Regions from separate parts of the Homo sapiens genome. Here region 2 is linked to region 1. The links are contacts of gene promoters, found by promoter capture Hi-C in blood cells and fetal thymus (Javierre and others, 2016). All regions are on one chromosome and are shown on one strand. Each heading gives the region's core, a stretch centred on a gene start or on the middle of the fragment in contact. The rest is flanking DNA. Distances are from core to core; before and after follow the strand shown. Region 1 holds the start of S100A6 (S100 calcium binding protein A6). Region 2 overlaps INTS3 (integrator complex subunit 3).

Region 1 (7,123 bases), core at 550-3,049:
AGGTGTGAGCCACCACACCTGACCCAGCAAGCTGTTTTTATCAGGTGTTGGTATAAAACCTAGATGATTGTTTCTTTGGCTGGGGGACAGTATTGCAGGGAAGGCAGGCTAGGCTAGCATTCCTGCTGTCATTTATTTCCATTCAGGAGTCAGGTCCCTGACCCCCTACCTCATGCCAGGCCCTTCCCTAGGTGTGGGCAGTGGGCAGACTCTGGGGGTCGAGATGCTGACAGTGTCATTGACTCAGCTGGGGCTCACCCTGAAGTTTCGGGGTGGGGATGACACCATGCAGTGGTGCGAGGGCAGGGCTGGGAGCGGGGTCTGAGCTGTCTCTCCACCTGGGTCCACAAAAGATGAAGGAGAGCAGCATCGATGACTTGATGAAGAGCCTGGACAAGAACAGCGACCAGGAGATCGACTTCAAGGAGTACTCGGTGTTCCTGACCATGCTGTGCATGGCCTACAACGACTTCTTTCTAGAGGACAACAAGTGACCAGGGCTGCCCTCCACCCTCACCCTCCACCCTTTGCTGCTGACCTCGGCTGCTCCTCTCACAGACCCTCTTTGGCCCCCTGCCCTCCTCTCCCTCCCAGATGGACCCTTCCATGGGAGGAAATAAAGTTTCCATCGCAGGTGCTGGGAGTCTGGTTTTGAAGCTGTCTTGTCTACCTTGGCCTGGGGAGAGGGGAGCACAGGAAGGGTCTCTCCTTGAGTGGGTTGAGACAGCTTCTGCCTCTGGGGGTTAGGGTCCTGGGCTCCCACTGCATTCCTCTCCTTCTTTGGTGTGGACGTCATTGGTTTTGTCATGGCTTAGTTTTGCCTGCCTGGAAAATGGGGAAGTTAGGCCAGGCGGGAACTCTGCAAGGATGCAGAGGAAGTTAAGAGGGAAAGTTGCTTTGAGAGGAGGACACTGGGAGGGGTTGGGAGTGGCTCCTGAGGGCGGTGATAGGCAGGCAGGCCTGACTTGTCCACAGCTCACCGGAGGCCACCTTGGCAGCACCTGTAGGAAGGGCATGTCTGGCCTCCACACCAGCCCCCTCCCTCTTCACCATTTCCCCTTCAATAGCACCACTCTCATCATCTATGGGGGACAGTGCTTTCTTCTCTCCCTGCCTCCTCCATCAAAATCTTTTCTCAGGGGAGGGTCTGAAAAGGCCTTCACTCCCCCGTAAATAACGAATGGTGCTTACAGGGCTGGGCTCCCACGTGCATGCACATTAACACCAAAGGTGCTGTAGTGAATGGAATTTGGGGCACTGAGGGGAAGGAGTGGAGGTGTTGGTAGGAACTTGTTGCTGGTGGGGGATGGGCGCCGTAGATATCCTTTACACCACTGGCTACTCCCCCTATCTCCTCTGGGGTGACCCTGAGTATCCTCTGTGGGACACCGGCATCCTGTGAGGCGCCCTCCTTGCCCACATTGACGCTGCGCTGGCTCGAGGGTCACATTCACGGTCTGGCAGAGGAAGCAGGGGTGACCGCCGCAGTCCTCCTCCTGCTCCCCTTGCCGAGTCACGTGTCACGAAGAGCAAACTGAGCAAACTGAGCTGCGCAGATGAGGGGAGACTCGTCACCAGGCGTGCAGTGGGCACTGCTGGGCTCCCCCATCCCGTCCTAACCCGGAACAGCCCCGGGCAGGAGGCGTGGAAAGTCGAGGGGGTAAACCGCGAATGTGCGTTGTGTAAGCCACGGCGCAGGGTGGGGCGCGGGCGGGACTTGGGCGGGCGGGGTGGGCTTGGCCGAGCTGGCCTCCGGGGCACCGACCGCTATAAGGCCAGTCGGACTGCGACACAGCCCATCCCCTCGACCGCTCGCGTCGCATTTGGCCGCCTCCCTACCGGTGAGTTCTCTCCAGGAGCCCTGGGTACTTTCCAGGGCCAGCTGCCCTCACGCTGGGGGTCCAGCCATCCCCTGCCCAGTTCAGCCGCTGGATCCAGACTGGGGCCATCTGTGGCGCTCCCCCGCTGGAGGGATAGTCAGGAGCAGCAGTGCTGTGCCAGGCAGGCCTTGGGCTAAGGGATCGCAATGGGGTGTGCTCTTTTGGGGTGCGGAAGGGAGTGCCCTGGGTGTGTCATTGCCACCATGTGTGGCCCTGTGAAGCTGTGTTTAAGCTGCCTTTGCAGCCTCCATTCCCCTCCCCTGCCCAGCCATACTCCTCAACTTCTGGATCCCCTGAAGGACAGTTCTCAGCTGTGCCCAAAGCTACTGTTCCTATATGCTTCTTAGAATCCTTAAGCCACCTCTCTTGCCTTGGCCCTAGTGTGCTCTCTCCTTCCCCTTCAAGCCCTGGGCTGTCTCCTGATGCCATTGTGTGTGGCCTGAGACTGGGTGGTTCCAAAGGAGGCGGGGCTAGTGCAGGCAGCATTATTGGGGTGTGTGGGTGAGAAGTCCTTGCTCCCATGGCACTGACTAGGCCCTCTGCTGCCAGCTCCAAGCCCAGCCCTCAGCCATGGCATGCCCCCTGGATCAGGCCATTGGCCTCCTCGTGGCCATCTTCCACAAGTACTCCGGCAGGGAGGGTGACAAGCACACCCTGAGCAAGAAGGAGCTGAAGGAGCTGATCCAGAAGGAGCTCACCATTGGCTCGGTGAGTGGCCTCCTCCCCAGGACCCCTTTTCCCACCCTTGTCCTTTGGAAGCAGGATTAGGGGAGAGAGAGGTGCCAGGTGCATCTGACTCACATTTACCCACATTCTGAGGCCCTGGTCCACATGTAGACCCTGAGCTGTAGACCCACTCTCCCAGCGGGTAGGGGATGCTTCCAGCCGGATATCCATCTCTCCAAATGAGGACCAGTAACTGAGAAGTAGCTGAGGAGAAGCAATGCCAAAGTGACATGGGTCCTTGGTGATGAGGGAGCACAGAGCCACTTGCAGAGAGGATTGCCTGGGAGGGGGAAGGGGAAGAATCCAGGGTTGTCATCACCACTGAGTATGGATTTCACATTCTAACACATTAGAAGCTGCAGGATGCTGAAATTGCAAGGCTGATGGAAGACTTGGACCGGAACAAGGACCAGGAGGTGAACTTCCAGGAGTATGTCACCTTCCTGGGGGCCTTGGCTTTGATCTACAATGAAGCCCTCAAGGGCTGAAAATAAATAGGGAAGATGGAGACACCCTCTGGGGGTCCTCTCTGAGTCAAATCCAGTGGTGGGTAATTGTACAATAAATTTTTTTTGGTCAAATTTACCCTTGCGTCCTGGCTTCCGAATGATTTCTGTTCCTCCTTGGCTTAGTGGGACACCAGCCATTGGAAGATTTGCTCACGGTCAACCTCTGAAAATGACTCATTGACTCGCCAGGCCAGAGGACCCACCCTGACAAGGCTGCCTCTAGCACATAAGGTGCCTTTATGTGAATGAGGAGAGATGCCCCTCTTGGCAACGCCATCCTAAGGAAAGGCTCAAGTGGTTTCCAGTAGAGAGAGTCCTGGGATGAGCTTGGAGATGGAAATGGTCCCTGGGCCGGGATGTGATGGGGTTTGGGGGCCTGGAAGTGAGGCAGAGATAGTCCCAGAGGCTCCCAGATGTGTTTTGCTCTGGGTGTGGCAAGAGGGGCCCTGGGGTGGGGCAAGTCCCCTTTCTCATCACAGCGCAGGGGTTAGATAGGGCACATCTGAGATGCCTGAGGCTTGGCTCAGGGAGTTTCCTACACCAGTGAGGACGCTGTGTGACTGAGTCTACTGCGGCTGCCCAGGTCCCAGGTGGAGTGGGGGAGGCACACTCTTGGAGTGTGTCCCTGCATTCAGGGTGAGGGCTTTTTGTTGGAACGGTGGTCTGAGGAGCTGGCAGCTGCACCAACACGTGAACCACGGGGTGTTCAGTAATGGGGCGGGGTATCCCTGCAGCCTCAGCGTAATGACTCACCCGGCACTTCCACGGGATCCCAGCCTGGATCTCAGCCCCCATCAGAGAAGATGACTAATTGAATCATTGTCCATCATCTGGATTAGTGTTTTCAGGCAGAAGGGAAGAGGATAAGGAGGGTAAACGCTGTTTCCGGGTGATGCCACATCATTCAGCCTCTCTAGGCCTAGTCCGAGCTGGGCAAGTTTACCTCTAGCTTCTGGGGAAGAGATCTTGACTTTAGATGGAGACCACATCCTTCTTTCCCTCTCACCTCCCCACTTCCCTTGGGGGTCCAACTTTGTGGAATTAAGTTGTCTTCTGTCCCCACTGGGTGGGGATTGGTAAACAGCTGGGAGATGCACCTTCTTGGAGGCCCTCCTTCTCTATTGCCTCCCCTGCCCTGCAGGGAGAAGTCGCGCTGTTGGTTGCAAGAGACCGGGGGCCGAATTCCCTCTCTGCACAGCCGTGCCCAAGCCTTGGCTCTATTCAGCTCCCTCTGGAAAAGTACGCGCTCCCTAACCCCTCCCGCGCCCCTCTAGGTTCCCGCCCTACACCCCTTTCCTCCCCCTTTCTTCCAGTCCCTCTCCGCCTGCCTTCCAGTGGCTGACAACTTGGGGTTCGGAGCGAGCGCCCTCCTGTGGACAGAGAGCAGGGCGCTGCGGGGACAGTCGGGTTGGTTTTCTTGAGCCTCTGGCAGGGGCCCGCCGTGGGGCTGTGGCCTGGCAGTCAGGGGAGTCCTTAGGAAGAGGAAGACAGAATAGGGCGCCCCGGGAATGTCAGGGTAGGGGGATCCTTTAGCTCCCGGCAATCAGCCCTAGAATTAAGCAACTCAGCTTCACAATTGACACACCTACAATAAGCAAGTCCATGAGGGAAAGGCGGTCCCTTTGTAAAGACAAATGGAATCGGAACCCTGCGCCTCCCCTCCCCAACCTGCAGGGCTAGAAGACCTTCGTACAAATCAATGCTCCCTGAGGAGAGGGAAGAGGAGTTTCAGTGACAGGAAGCCCGCTGCTGCGGGGAGGGGATGCTCAGGCAAGGCCGTCTGCCGGGCGTTCCTGGGGAGCTCTGGTGGGTGGGCAGGCCACCGGTGCAGGAGAATCAACACAGGTGCACAGTCCATCTGCTCAGTAAACAGGCGTGTCCTTTCGTTTCTGCTTCTCCACAGTGGTGGAGGGGAAAGGGAACATGAATTTCAAGAATAAAACAAAAAACAAAACAAACAGCAAATCTTTAGGGGTATAATTTTTTAGGTTTTTTTTTTTTTTCTCGCAGGATAGGGGAGGGAAGCAGCATTTACAATGGAATATGGTAGGTGCAGCAGTCAAATGGTGGAATTGGGTGTGGAGAGGTGCATAGACTGGACGTTTTATTGCTCCGACCAATTTAAAGTTGGAATTGAATCCTTTCAGCTCACTGTTGAGTATGGTGTGGGCTTACAGGATGGGGAAAAGTTAGGATGTGAGCTGAGGGCTTCATGAGAGGTCACTTTGCTTCTCTGAAGGTTGAGCAGTGGGAGTGGCTCTAGTCTCTCCACTTCCTTCAGTTGAGGTCCTCCCATTACTGACATTAATCCTACAATCTAATCACCCTAACATTGGTGAAGCTGCAACAGCAGCACCACAGACCATCTCTGTAAACTGGGGCAGGCCCCAGTTAGGGGGTTTAGGACTGAGTCACAGGAAGTAGCTCTCTGTTTTTTGCCAAGCAAAAAGGAAATTGTCAAGAATAATGCCACCACCTTTGTATAGGACCACATTTTTATAGCAGCTTCATTTTTGTGAGGCACCTATCATAGCCATTGCCTCTTGTCATCTTAGAAGATTTGTGTGTAGTATGTATTATTTTATTTTAATTTTTTAGAGACTGTCTCTCTCTGTTGCCCAGGATAGAGTGCAGTGACACTATCATAGCTCACTGCAGCCTCCAACTCCTGGGCTCAAGTGATCCTCTCACCTCAGCCTCCCGAGTATCTAGGACTACAGGTGTACACCAACATGTCTGGCTAATTTATTTTTTGTAGAGATGAGGTCTTGCTGTTTTGCTCAAGCTGGGCTTGAATTCCTGACCTCAAGTGATCCTCCCCACTTGGCCTCCCAAAGTGCTGGGATTAAGGTGTGAGCCATGTGAGCCGCTGTGCTCAGCCTGTGTAGTATATATGATTAACCCCACTGGACAAGTGACAAGAGGGAGCTACAGGGAAGCCATTGCCTCTACCCAGGTCAGACTGTAAGTTAAGAGGGAGCTGCGAGCAGAGCTGAGTTCTCCTGATTCCAGGCCAGCTCATTAGTGCCTGTCTCATGACATTCTTTGACCATTTCTTCCTTATCTTTTTCTCTTAAATGTTTTAATTAGATATTGGGAATACATAAAACTGTTTATAGACTAAATCTAAGATATAAGAACAATGACACAAAATCCACCCAGTATAACAAGTGAACATTACCATCACCTTCTAATTCCCTAACTTGTCTTCCCCATCCCATTTTCTTCCCTCTCAGTGGGACCGCTGTCTGGTAATACTATTTGTCATTTCCTTTCTTAATAATTTTTACTACATGTATTTTCATCTCTAAATGATATATGGGTTTACATTATTGTGAGTTTTATGTAAATGGAATAATGCCATGTGCATTCTTCTGTTACTGGCTGTTTTTCACTCAACGTTATGTTTGAGATTTATCCAAGTTGCTCTAGTTTGCTAGTTTTCACTGCTATGTAAGAGTTCATCATATGACTATAACATTATTTATCCTGACTATTGCTAATTATCATTTTGGATTATTTCTATTTTCCCCATTACAAACAGTGCTTCTGTGACCATTCCTGTAGATATCTCCTAGGATACGTACCAGAGTTGCTGGAGGTTTGCACCTATGAGTGGAATTGCTGGTGTGTAGAGTACTCACTTTCATTTTTACTAGAAAATGCCACCTTGTTTTTCAAGGTTATTGTACTAATTTGTACTCATAACAGCTTTGCATGTTCCATTTATTCCACATCCTTATTTTTTGTTGGGCTAAGTTTTTTTGGTGCCCAGTATGAAATGTTAACTGATTTTTAAAATTTGTATTTCCAGGATTACTGATGATTCTGAGCATCTTTTCTTTTCTTTTTCTTTTTTTTTTTTTTTTAAGTATAGACGGGGTTTCACCGTCTTAGCCAGCACGGTCTCAACCTCCTGACCTCATGATCCGCCCTCCTTGGCCTCCCAAAGTGCTGGGATTACAGGCGTGAGCCACTGTGCCCGGCCAAGCACTTTTTCATATGTTT
Region 2 (7,377 bases), core at 1,418-3,917, 230 kb before region 1:
TTCCCAGGCCCCATGGCTGAAAGCGCACACCACTGTAGCCAGGAGGGAGGGTGCCTGGGAGGCATGGGCTCCCTGTCTGCAGGCCTGGAGGGAGAGCAGAGGCCCTATGTCCCTAATGCTGCCTCCCAGATCTTCTGGGGAGGTCAGAGCTCAATGTTCACCTGTGCAGAGTCAATAACAGCCACGATCATGTTCAGCAGCTCTCCGCTCCTCAAGGTTTCATCTGGAAACTAAATGGAAAAAGAGAGGGGAAGAGTCCTGGATGGGCTCCTCAGCTTTTATCCCATAGCCCACTCTCCTTCCTTATTACATCTCAAGGTTTGACTGGGTCAGCCAGACACAGGCCCTAAAATAAACCCCTAAACAGAGATCCAACAGCTATGATGCTGGAAGACTTCAAGAACTTGAAGCCCCCAAGTTTTGTTATTTATGTGTGCACACCATCAGGGGTGTGGGTTTTCTCTGATACTTCCCAAAGCATGTGTGTACAGAAAGGAATGGGGAACTACTAGAGATAAAGCCAGAGCTGAGAGGACTGGCCATGGTGGCTGATTCTGTGTGGGAGCAGTGGTAGAATAAATATTTGCATCCCTGGCAGCAAAGAAGTCCAACCTGTGCTGACCTTTGGCCAAAGAGGTGGTGTAGAGAGTTTATGTCTGGAGGTGTGTGGGGTAGGCAGGGCCTCATCTAGAGAAGGGGGAGGAAAGTACCCTGTGTCCAGGATCTGCACCCCTCCTCCCTCCAGTACTCGGCTGAGATCACAGTTCCTCCTGTCATGCCCTGGGTCCTTATTTCCCTCTTCCTGGGAACTTCTACCAAGAGGAGAAAGGGCCGATACCTGTTATGTCCCAGTTCCTAGAGTGTGAGTGAACCAGGGGAAATGAAAGTGAGTCTCCACTACAGAAGCCCTGGTCATCAGGAACTATCAGAGAGAATCCAAGCAAGGGTGAGCCATCAGAGGACAAGAGGGCCTGGGACATATGAACATGGATCTGGTTTGTGGGATCTGTCCTGGGTCCAGATGATGGGGCCCAATCTGAGAAGCCAAGTATATAGGCTCAGACCCCAACGCACATCAGTTACACCAAAGTATAGGAATTCAGGGAGTTTTAGAAATGTTTCAACCACTAATAAAGAGAAGTGGAAGGAGGGGACAGCTGTGAGTGTGGGAAGCAATGGCCCACCTAGGTTAGTGGGGATGAACAAAAGAGGGTTCAGGGTTGTGTGTACTCAGAGTGTTCACTGAGGTGTGTTCCTGTGAGCCCCCCGGCACAGATACGGATGCAGGCACTGACCTCTGTGTAGATGGAGGGCGTGAGGTGGCACAGGAGCCGCACATCGTCCTCCTGGCAGGCCTTCATGTCCATCATCAGGCAGGTGTGCAGATCGCCCAGCTGGGTAGCCTGGGCAAATGACTCGTACAGGTTCATCTTCCCTGCGGCGGCTTTGCTGCAAGACCAGCTGGGCCTGAGCCAGCAGCCTGACCCCAGTGCCCACCTTCAAGCATCCCCGAAGCAGGCTCCCGCTCTAAAACTGCTTTGCTGGCTCCAGATGCCCTGTGCTAATCTGCCTCATGTCCCTCCCAACTGCCTCCCACAGGGGCTTGATAACTCAGGGGAACCAGGGGATACTCTTCTTTCTGTCCATCCTTCCCCAGAGCTCAAAAGGGCTCCAACCACGATCAGTGAGTGAAGCTACTGCCGGATGAGAGTCAGGAACAGAAGAGGGAGGGCTCAGGTCAGGCTGGAGAAGGCTTTCTCTCTTGCTTTCTGGGCTCTAACCATGAGGGCAGTGACACCTCACAGCATATACAAACTTAGCTCAAAATGGCTTGTAGGCCTAAATGTAAGAATTAAAGCCACACAACTTGTAGAAGAGAAAACAGGAGTAAATCTTCATGACAACAAAAACACAAGTGGTAAAAGAAAAAAATAGACAAATTTAGCTTCATAAAAAGTTAGCACTTTTTGTTCAAAAGATGCTATCAAAAAAGTTAAAACTCGCAGAATGGAAGAAAAAATATTTGCAAATCATTATGTCTGAGACTTGCATCCAGAATATATAAAGAACACTTTTGGTATGCAACAAAATCTTAAAAACATTCTTGAAAGTTGGCCGGGTATGGTGGCTCATGCCTGTAATCCCAGCGCTTTGGGAGGCAGAGAAGGGCGGATCACCTGAGGTCAGAAGTTCAAGACCAGCCTGGCCAACCAGCCTGGCCAACATGGTGAAACCCTGTCTCTACTAAAAATACACACACAAAAAGTTAGCCGGGCGTGGTGGTGTGCGCCTGTAATTTCAGCTACTCAGCAGGCTGAGGCAGGAGAATTGCTGGAACCTAGCATGCGGAGGTTGCAGTGAGTGGAGCTCGCGCCACTGCACTCCAGTCTGGGCAGCAGAGCGAGACTCTGCCTCAAAAAAAAAAAAAAAAAAAATCTTAAAAGTCAATAATAAAAAGACAAATAACTCAATTAAAAATAGGAACATTTTTGAATAGATATTTCTCCAAAGAAAATATACAAATGGCTGGGCCCGGTGGCTCACGTCTATAATCCTAGTACTTTGAGAGGCCGAGGTGGGCAGATCACCTGAGGTCAGGAGTTCGAGACCAGCCTGGCCAACACAGTGAAACCCCATCTCTACAAAAAAATACAAAAATTAACTGGATGTGGTGGCGTGCACCTGTAGTCCCAGCTACTCGGGAGGCTAAGGCAGGAGAATTGCTTGAACCCAGGAGGCGGAGGTTGCAATGAGCTGCGATCATACCACTGTACTCCAGCCTGGGTGACAGAGCAAGAATCCATCTCAAAACAAACAAATAAACAAAACAAAAATTAGCTGGGCGTGAAGATCTGTGCCTGTAATCCCAGCTACTCGGGAGGCTGAGGCAGGAGAATCGCTTGAACCTGGGAAGCGGAGGTTGCAGTGAGCCAAGATCGCACCACTGTACTCCAGCCTGGGCGACACAGCGAGACTCTGTCTCAAAAAAAAAAAAAAAAAAAAAAAAGAGAAAGAAAAAAGCAAGTCACAAAAGATCACATACAGTTTGATTCCATTTATCTGAAAATGTCCAAAATAATCTATAGAGGCAGAAAGCAGATCAGTGGTTGCCAAGAGCTGGGTGAAGGGGAGAAAATGGCAAAGTGATTGCTAATGAGTATGAGATTTCTTTTTGGGGTGATAAAAATGTTCTTTCTAAATCAGATAGTAGTGATAGTTGTATAACTTTGTGAATATACTAAAAAATTATTGAGGCCGGGCACAGTGGCTCACACCTGTAATCCCAGCACTTTGGGAGGCCAAGGTGGGTGGATCACCTGAGGTCGGGAGTTCGAGACCAGCCTGACCAACACAGAGAAACCCTGTCTCTACTAAAAATACAAAACTTAGCTGGGCGTGGTGGTGGGTGCCTGTAGTCCTAGCTACTTGGGAGGCTGAGGTGGGAGAATTGCTTGAACCCGGGAGGTGGAAGTTGCAGTGAGCTGAGATTGTACCACTGCACTCCAGCCTGGGTGACTGAGTGAGACCCTGTCTCAAAAAATAAATAAATAAAAATTTAAATTAAAAAAAAGCCTTAGGAGTACACAAGGCTTACTCAGAGTAGGGGAAAAAAAAACCCAAAACCAATAACTGGGCGTGATGGCGCATGCCTGTATGTAATCCTAGCTACTCAGGAGGCTGAAGCAGGACCATCACTTGAGCCCAGGAGTTTGAGACCATCCTGGGCAACAAAGTAAGACCCTGTCTCTACAAAAAAATTTTAAAAAATTATCTGGGCATGGTAGTGCATGCCTGTGTAGTCCCAGCTACTCAGGATGCTGAGGGGGGAGGATGGCTTGAGCCCAGGAGTCTGAAGCTGCAGTGAGTGACATGCACTGAGCCGCAGTGTCATCAGGTGACAGAGTGAGATGCTGTCTCTTAAAAACAAACCAACTCAACCAAACAGACCCACAAAGAAGGCCCTGGTGATGACAGTCCAGGGTTGGGGAGTCAGCGTGTGGAAGAGAGGCTCTCCAGGATGTGTCCTGACACCATTTGAAACATGGGGACCATACCCACCTGGCCCTCAGGTAGTAGAGCAGGTGGTAGCCAATCTTGGGCTGCTTCTGATATAGCTCGGAGAGAAGGTCTAGAAGTAGAGAGAAGCTGCTGTTGTCTTCCTGCATCTGACATAGGTTCCTGGAGGTGGGGCATGGGAGGAGAGGAACAGAACTTTACCCAGGGCAGACTCTCCCATGGAGTTTCTCAGGTGGCATGGGCTGTCTGTGCCCACAGCATATGTCCTCCTCCCTGGAAAGCGAGTCCCATTACCCCAGGACAGGAGCACATGTGTGTGCTGTCAGGGAGGATGGAGGGTAGAACAGTATCTCCTATAGCTGCGTGCTTACCTAAATATTAGGTACAGAGGCTTTCCTACAGACTCCTCCAGGGACCTACAAGAAGAGGGTTATATTTGAGAATCCATGTGAGGGGGGCTGCTGGCACATACGGAGGACCAGCTGGAGGCTAGACACCAGCCTGCTCCTTCCCTACCCAAAAGGCAAACTTCCTGCTGCTCCGCAGGCTTGGTAACAGAGAAAACAGGTTCCTAACATGGGACCACGCTCTTGCCCTTTGGAGACAGGCTCCAGGCCAAGGTCCAATCACACCTAATTCAGCAGATTAGAGTTACTGGGCCCAGCAGCAAGGGCTGGAAGCATGAGGAGGTGTCAACCTCCCCAGTACGCACGGTGTTCAGCAGGTAGAAATAAGCTCTTGTTTAAATGAGTTGGTACATGTGAGAATAAAAACACCAAGTGAACAGATTTTTCTCAAGTCTACAGTAAGGGGTCTCTTGGACTCAGGCTGTAAGAGCACCCTCTGGCTCCTGAGGCTCTGGAGTGAGGGAAAATCAGCCTTACTCCTCAGTAATCTCCTCAGGCAGGACCTCCCCTCGAAAGTGGGCCTTGAAGAGCTCCTGTAGGCAGGAAGCAAGGACAGACAGCTGCTCCGAGTCAAAGTCTTCCTGGGTGATGAGACAAGGGAGGGAGAGTCACTACCTACACCCAAGCCCTCCTGCCCCCACGATCCCAGTCTTGGAACTCATCTGCTTCCACCTCCAGGATCAGCAAGCTCCCCTCCCCACTATAAGAGGGACTCATCTAGGGGAGGGAAAAAGTGAGTTGTCTTCCCTGGGAGACGTGTAAGCTAAGCAGGCTAGGCTGCTTCCTCCCTAAGGGATTGGGTTCCTCCTCACCTCCAGGACCTGGTCCACAATTTCCTGCATGACCTCACACTGGGCCTCCGTATCACTGCAGGACAGAAATGAGAGGAAATCCCAGGGACATAAATGATAGCAGAGGGCAGGACACACACCCAGAACAGTGCACAAGCACACTCACATGCACAGAGACAAAACAAAGGAGCTCTGTGTAAAATCCCAGCTTGGATGGGGAGGCTTTAGGGCAGAATTGGCTGCTCTCTGGGCAGAGGCCCAAAGAAAAGGAAAATCCCCACCAATCCTGCCTTGGTTCTCAGAGGTTCTTCTCCCAAGAATCTGCAGAGTGGGAACTCAAGGTGTTACGGAATGAGGCTGCCCCACTCCCAGCTCATACTCCCTAACGTAAAGTGCAGAAGAACTCCCTCATGAAGCTTCAGCTACCTCTCCACACACTCCTATCATGTTTGCCTCCAACCCCCATCTCCTGCTATACCCATTAAGCACCAGGTAGAGAGCCTGGGGCTGAACCTCCTGAAGTTGAGAACAAGGTCTGTACCCACCTCCCCTTCTGTAGCTGGAGTACTTTGTCCCTCAGGGACTCATCCAACTGGTCAAGGTAAGGGGTGATATCAACTGGCTCCTCCACAACTGTCTCCTTGATAGGGTGGAAGCGAAACTCCCTCTTCTTTCCTAAAGGGAGTGATTTGGGAAAGAAGTCAGTTTGCCCAGATGCCAGCAACAGAGACAGTCCCCTCAATGACTTATCCCCTTCCTCACATGCCCTAAGTGTGCACCTGTTTCCTCAATGCTGTGTGAGTGCCTGAAGCATCTCCCTGACTGTGCACATGTACTAGCTCTTACAAGCAAACAAGGGCAGGAACCACTTCTTTTTTCCTTCCTGCCTTGAGTGTTAAGTACAGGGCTCTGCATTCTGGAGTCTCATCCAGATACCCTGTGAACAAAACTTTAACTCACAGGAATAAGGGTGACAGGAAGAGTGCAGAGAGGCTGCTTCTGGGAACTGGTCCTCTCAGGGCTGACACAACCCTGAACTAGCCCTTGCTGATGGCCTCACCTTTGCTGTTGAGATCCTCTTCATCGTCACTGAAGGCTGCCTCTGCATTGTCATAGCAACTCTCATCCTTATCCGACATATGGTTGTCCATCTCCATGGAAACTGGCTCCTCAATTTTGACTTGGGAGTAAAAAAAGATAAGGCATTTAATGGCCTCCTGGGTCCTCTAACATGCCCCATGCTTCTAGGAAGGGAGAATGGAGGGCAAGTGAGAGAATAAGGAGTTTATCATCTAAATGGAATACTGACCCTGGGAGGACAAACCTCTTGACAAACCTCTTGTCCTCACAACCCTCCATGACCTGCAGAGGGATGTTGCCAGGAATAAGAGCAACACTGGACATGACTCCTCTATGCTCAGCTCATTAGGATTGGTAACTAGAGTAAGATCAGGGACAGTCCGAAGTGCTAGTCTCACTCTTGTCGCCTGGGCTGGAGTGCAGTGGCGCCATCTCGGCTCACTGCAACCTCCCCGTCCCAGGTTCACGTAATTCTCATGTCTCAGCCTTCTGAGTAGCTGGGACTACAGGTGCCCGCCAAATACAAATTTTTTTGTATTTTAGTAGAGACGGAGTTTCATGATGTTGGCCAGGCTGGTCTTGAACTCCTGACCTCAAGTGATCCACCCGCCTCAGCCTCCCAAAGTACTGGGATTACAGGCATGAGCCACCATGCCCAGCCTCCAAGTGCTCTTTAATTTAAAACCAAGTTGGAAAATACTACTTGACTTAGACCCTTATCCCAAAACAAAGTGTGTATGTGTGGTAAGGAGATGGCAGTTGTATTGAGAGTAAGGTTTGAGGCCCAACATGACAAACTGTCATCAGAGGCCAGGGCCTAGAGCTGGGAAGAGAGATGGGCAAGTTAAAGTGAGATAAATATTGTAAATATTACATGAAAGCCTTCTAACTACTGAGCAGGAGTTACTAGGAGAAAAGAGTTAAGAGAACAAGAAAGATGAGCAAGTCAAATAAGATTAGATAAAGCAAGAGAATCAAGACAGACAACACAAAAATGAATAAAAAAGATAAACTGAGGAAGGAAAAACTGTGATGGACAGTGTCACGGAAGTGGAGAACTGTGTGGGACATCCTGAAAGGGG

The links. Contacts are between HindIII fragments. The CHiCAGO score rates a contact against its expected background, and 5 or more counts as called.
Region 2: a fragment that was not itself captured here is called in contact with the fragment with the promoter of S100A6 in region 1 in 1 of 17 cell types (M0 macrophages); the score reaches 5.0 in M0 macrophages.

The regions. Positions count from the first base shown.
Region 1 is chr1:153,530,667-153,537,789 of GRCh38, reverse strand. S100A6 (S100 calcium binding protein A6) reads left to right here and starts at 1,799. Exons shown (of 3, transcript NM_014624.4): 1 at 1,799-1,841; 2 at 2,430-2,588; 3 at 2,960-3,191. The coding sequence starts at 2,451. The coding sequence ends at 3,094. S100A5 (S100 calcium binding protein A5) reads left to right here. Exons shown (of 3, transcript NM_001394232.1): 3 at 354-643. The coding sequence ends at 494. LOC124904423 (a long non-coding RNA gene) reads right to left here and starts at 4,348. Exons shown (of 2, transcript XR_007066630.1): 1 at 3,869-4,348; 2 at 115-2,886. RefSeq lists enhancers at 1,174-1,809, 3,763-4,057 and a cis regulatory region at 5,234-5,561. The HindIII fragment of the contact is 28,060 bases long and covers 1-7,123 here.
Region 2 is chr1:153,761,746-153,769,122 of GRCh38, reverse strand. INTS3 (integrator complex subunit 3) reads right to left here. Exons shown (of 30, transcript NM_023015.5): 15 at 6,276-6,395; 16 at 5,761-5,890; 17 at 5,237-5,291; 18 at 4,902-5,005; 19 at 4,389-4,433; 20 at 4,060-4,179; 21 at 1,296-1,449; 22 at 162-230. Among named protein-coding and RNA genes, the nearest start is that of SLC27A3, 10 kb to the left of the region's middle. The HindIII fragment of the contact is 5,932 bases long and covers 1-5,633 here.